Regions from separate parts of the Homo sapiens genome. Here region 1 is linked to region 2. Evidence: promoter capture Hi-C in 16 types of primary human blood cells and fetal thymus (Javierre and others, 2016). All regions are on one chromosome and are shown on one strand. Each heading gives the region's core, a stretch centred on a gene start or on the middle of the fragment in contact. The rest is flanking DNA. Distances are from core to core; before and after follow the strand shown. Region 1 overlaps THADA (THADA armadillo repeat containing). Region 2 holds the start of OXER1 (oxoeicosanoid receptor 1).

Region 1 (2,700 bases), core at 100-2,599, 820 kb after region 2:
AAAAAGAAACTAAAAGAATGTACATCAAAAATGTTTATAGTGATTATCTTTGTGAGATGGACTTACAGGTGACTGTTATTGTCTTTTTGTTATTGTTGCTTTATCTGAATTTTTGGAATTGTCTCTTATTATAACAGAAAAAGGTCATCAGAAGGAACCAGACAATGCAAAAAAAAATTATTTTAATTCACTTCTTTAAAAATATTTTTAATTTTTTTTTTTTTTAAGAGACAAGGTCTCACTCTGTTGCCCAGACTGGTGCAATCTTATCTCACTGCAGCCTTAAACTCCTAGGCTCAAGCGATCCTCCTACCTCAACCTCTCAAAGAGCTGGGACTACAGCTGTGCACCACCATACCCAGCAAATTTTCTTTTTTTTTTTTTGTAGAGACAAGGTCTAGCTAAACTCCCCAGGCTAATCTCAAACTCCTGGCCTCAAGTGACCCTCCTGCCCTGGCCTCCCAAAGTGTTGGGATTATAAGTGTGAGCCACTGCACCAAGCCAAAATTATTTTTTAAACATACCCTAACTCTCAATAAAGTACAATTCTAAAAAGGAGATGCACTTACCAAATGAGGAATCTTTTCAGACGGGTGAAACATAGTCTTAATAAAAAGAATAATAGCTAATCCAGATGTGCTCTGTACAGTCTGTAACAGATCATCTATTTGGCAAAAAAGGAGAGAAGCTTGTGTTAAATAATGAATATTCTGGTAGAGTGGAAAGAGCAGATGCTGAGCAGCCAGATAGGCCTGGGTACAATTTCTAGTCTGACCACTTCCTGGGTGAATAGGTCTTACCTAAGTTATTTAACATCCCACAGACTCTCTTTTCTCTTGGGTAAAATGGGATAACTCTTAACTGAGGCAGTGTCAGGTTTAGATGAATAATGAACATAAACGCTTTTTAGAAGGAGTCTCACTCTGTTGACAGGCTGGAGTGTAGTAGCGTGACCTCAGCTCACTGCAACCTCTACTTCCTGGGTTCAGGCGATTCTCCTGCCTCAGCCTCCCAAGTAGCTGGGACTACAGGCGCGTGCCACCACACCCAGCTAATTTTTGTATCTTTAGTAGAGATGGGGTTTCACCACGTTGGCCATGATGGTCTCGATCTCTTGACCTTGTGATCCGCCTGCCTCGGCCTCCCAAAGTGTTGGGATTACAGGCATGAGCCACTGTGCCCGGCTGAATATAAAGGCTTTTAAGCCCAGCATATAGATACTCAATAAACGTGATTCCTTCCTCTCTCCTCTAACATACACTTTCTTCCTCGCCAACTATTGCTTCCCAAAACACCTAACAGCAACACCACCTGTCCCCTCCCCTCCACCAATGCCTCTGTATCCCAATCACCATATACACAGACTTTTTCAAAAAGAGATTTCAGGGCTTGTATAAAGAATGTAGGTAAGTGCTAATTACAAACTTTGCTAGCACTGACACTGTACCCATAGCAACCAAACAGTTTTGACTTGGTATCTTCTTTTTGTTTTATCTCTATTAGCCTCTAATACCATGGTGAGTTGTTCAACCTGGGGAAAGAAGTAACACTTCTTTATGACATCATAAACTACGTACTAAATATCCACTCTGCCCTTCATCACTGATAAGAAAACTGTGACTTTGATTGGGGAAGCCACATGCCCAGCCAAAAGCAGGATACTTGCTTCTTCAATCTTCTTTGCAACTAAAGGTAGGCATATAAGAGGGTTCAGGCCAGTTGGATTTAAGCCAGTCACTTGAGTATCCTGATCAAAAGTAAAGACGCAACTGGCCTTCCTTCTTCCTGCCTTGAATAAAGACACATCTGGAGCTACAGCAGTCATATGGCAACCACGAGGCAACAAACGTGGGTGAAAACCAACCTGCTGAAGATGGCACAGCAGAAAAGCAGAAAATGTGTGGGTCGTACACTGCCTATACCAGTTCTGGATGACCTGCCTCTGAACTTGTTATGTGGGAAAGGAGGTTTGGTTTTCAGTTACTTGCAGCTAAACACTTTACTGATTATGAAGCTTTAAAATGCTGGAAAAGAATAGTACTGATTAGGTGCCATCAACTTTTCGGAAAAAAAGCTACTTCTTTTTTTTTTTTTTTTTTTGAGACGGAGGCTTGCTCTGTTGCCAGGCTGGAGTGCAGTGGCATGATCTTGGCTCACTGCAACCTCTGTCTCCCGGGTTCAACTGATTCCCCTGCCTCAGCCTCCCGAGTAGCTGGAACTACAGGTGCACGCCACCACGCCCAGCTAATGTTTTTTTTTGTATTTTAGTTTTTTAGTATTTTAGACAGGATTTCATCATGTTGGCCAGAATGGTCTCAATCTCCTGACCTCGTGATCTGCCCGCCTTGGCCTCCCAAAGTGCTGGGATTACAGGCATGAGCCACCACACCCGGCCGAAGTTACCTCATATTAAAATCATGTATTCTCTACATTTCATTAGTTAGAGAATCTTTTTTTTAGACTAACACAGTCCTCTTTTAAAAAGTAAATAACCTCTGAAAAGTTTTCTGTAAGTTATGTCTTAATAAAAGTAACTTTAACTACTTTCCTTTCCTTTTAATACCTGAGAACCCAGGCAAAAAGAGAAATAGAAATACTAATTGGACAAAATATAGCTAAGACTTTCATTACCAGGGTTAAAAACACAAACAATGAGGCCAGGCGCGGTGGCTCACACCTGAGCCACTTTGGGAGGCCAAG
Region 2 (2,700 bases), core at 11-2,510:
ACCCCCACAGCGCTGCAGCCCTGCAGCTGGCCCTCAGCCCTGGGAGGAGCCTTCCTTTTCCAGAGAGACCTCGCCCTGCACTTTCAGCTTCCCTATGGCCTCCGCCTTCCTAGAGGCCTCCCGGTAGCGCCACTGCCTGGAGGGTTGGTAGGAGCTCTCGTCGCTCACTGGGCCCTGCCGGCCCCGCGTGAGGCCCAGCAAGGCCCGGCTCTGGTGGAGGAAGTTGGGGCTAGAGAAGCAGTAGAGCACGGGGTCCAGGACACTGTTGAGGTAGGTGAAGGCCAGGGAGCCATGGAAGAGCTGTGTGCAGAGGTCCAGGGATCGGCAGGCGGACAGCCAGAAAGCCACCATGGAAGCCATGCCAAAGATGATGCTGGGCAAGAAGCAGATGGTGTAGACGGCCACCACCATGGCCAGCACACGCATGGCCCTCTGCGGGCCTGCCTGCCCGCCCAGACCACGGTTCCGGATGGTGAGCCCAATGCTCACAATAGCAAAGAGGATGAGCGCCAGTGGCAGGAAGAACTCCAGCAGGTACAGTGCCTGGTGCCAGCGGAGCGAGGCCGAGGGCTTCGTGCCCACCCTGTAGCTGAGGCAGGAGGGGCCGGAGAAGGTGCTCAGGAGCAGGTGCCCGTTGAGGAGCAGGATGCCCACCCAGAGTCCCCCGGCCACCCGGGCAGCTGCCCCCACGGAAGCACGGCTCAGCACGTGGTGGGGCTGCACCACCTTCAGGTAGCGGTTGAGTGCGATGGCTGTGAGGAAGACAACGCTGGCCGTGCGGTTGGTGGACAGCATGAAGAGGTTGACTTTGCAGGCAGCAGCCCCAAAGCGCCAGGTCTCATGGAGGAGGTAGTAGTCCACGCGGAGGGGCAGGTTGCTGATCAGGAGGAAGTCAGCGGCCACCAGGCTGACCAGGAACACCGTGTTGGAGGTCCAGGGCCGCGTGTGGATGCAGAAGATGAAGAGGGCCAAACTGTTCCCCACCAGGCCCAGGACAAACTCCAGGGCCAGGATTGGTGCCAGGAAGGCAGACACCAGCGAGGAAGAGGTGGGGTGGCAGGGCCCTCCAGAGGACCCCCCCACAGTGGTAAAGGCAGAGGGAGCAGAGGAGGGTGAGGGAGAGAAGGAGGGAGGGAGAACAGAGGAGGAGAGAGAGGGAGATGGAGAGCTCAGGTTATGAAGTTCCATGGGCTGCTTGGGCCATGGGCCTGAGAGAAGGTTCTGGAGTCTTCTACCCCTGCAGGAGTGCTCAGGGCAAAGTGGGATGATTGGCACTATCAGCTGGCCACCACGGTGACACAACATCCTGGGGTTTTCATCAGCATTCTCGCAGCCACTGAGAAACACCCTGTGTTCCTGTTTGCAGGCCAAGGGGAACCCTGCAGCCCTCCCTCCTTCCCTCCGCCTCGGGGTACTGAGTGATCCCACCACATGAGGTCTCTGAGCCCAGCCTGGGGGTTGTGCTGCTGGTAGAGGAGGAAGCAGGGCTCAGCAGGGGCAAGATGGAAGCCCAGAGAAACCCTGAAGTGGGAGGATAGTCCAGCCGGGTGAGGTGGGGGCTCTCAGGATCATGCAGCCCTCCCTGGACACCCCCTCCTCCACTACATATAGAGGCTGGTGGCTGCCTCCCTGCCCCCACCAGCTCTGGCTTCAGGGACTGTGGAGCCAAAAGGACATTGTCCTGAGAGGTAGGCAGGGAGTCAGTGAAGACCTCCACCGCCCTGCTGGTGGCCTGGAGGGAACCAGTCCTATTTGTGCTCCGCCAGCCTGCTGTGTGTCTGAAAGCCCACTGTAGTTCAGCTTTCAGTTGCTCCCAGGTTCCTGATGGTTCCGAAGTCTGTGATGGTCCCAAGTCCGGGTACACGGTGAAGTAGGCCCCATGGACGGGGACGCCCCTGCCAAATTTCTACTGCCATGGCACGGGGAGCTGGGGGCTTCTCCCGCAAATAGAACAATCCTGATTTTTCCCTGTCTGTGTCTCCCCATGGCTCCTTGTCCACTCCACTCCTTGCCCCCATTAGCATTCACTGCGGAATAGGGAGTGGGAGGCTGGGGCTAGCTCCAGACAAGGTACAAGTCCAGCTGTCCCATGGTGAGGTATTCTCATGAGCCCATGGGCTGGTCCTGTGGGTGGAGATGAGGGCTTCAGGCTCCTGATAACCCGGGACAGCAGGGCCAAGGGAGGTGCTGGTTCCAGGCTCCAGGGCCTGACCCCATCACTGCCAACTGGCTGGGGTCAGCAGTCTGCCATGTGTGGCCTGGCCTCTGTGTCCCAGGCACAGTGGCCCCTGGCCTCTCTTGGCTGCCCTGGGCTCCCATTTGGTCAAGGCTGAGGGCAAACATCCCTGGGAGAAGCAGGGTGGTGAGGCCCAGCCTAAGCTCCATATGCAGACAGGCCTGGGTTGGAAACAGAGCTGCCCTATTTCCAAACCTCTCTGAGCCTGATCTGTAAAATCAGGCACTACCACCTTCTTGGAGAGTTGTGAGGATAAAATGAGATAATTTATGTAAAAACTTATAGGCCAGGCACAGTGGCTTAAGCCTGTAATCCCAGCACTTTGGGAGGCCGAGGCGGGCAGATCACGAGGTCAGGAGATCGAGACCATCCTGGCTAACACGGTGAAACCCCGTCTCTACTAAAAATACAAAAAAAGTAGCCGGGCGTGGTGGCAGGTGCCTGTAGTCCCAGCTACTCGGGAG

Evidence for each region. Contacts are between HindIII fragments. The CHiCAGO score rates a contact against its expected background, and 5 or more counts as called.
Region 1: a fragment that was not itself captured here is called in contact with the fragment with the promoter of OXER1 in region 2 in 1 of 17 cell types (naive B cells); the score reaches 5.6 in naive B cells.

What each region holds. Positions count from the first base shown.
Region 1 is chr2:43,577,944-43,580,643 of GRCh38, forward strand. THADA (THADA armadillo repeat containing) reads right to left here. Exons shown (of 38, transcript NM_022065.5): 9 at 570-664. Among named protein-coding and RNA genes, the nearest start is that of THADA, 17 kb to the right of the region's middle. The HindIII fragment of the contact is 1,326 bases long and covers 687-2,012 here.
Region 2 is chr2:42,762,875-42,765,574 of GRCh38, forward strand. It overlaps OXER1 (oxoeicosanoid receptor 1), which reads right to left and starts at 1,261. Exons shown (of 1, transcript NM_148962.5): 1 at 1-1,261. The coding sequence starts at 1,188. The coding sequence ends at 34. The HindIII fragment of the contact is 6,399 bases long and covers 1-2,700 here.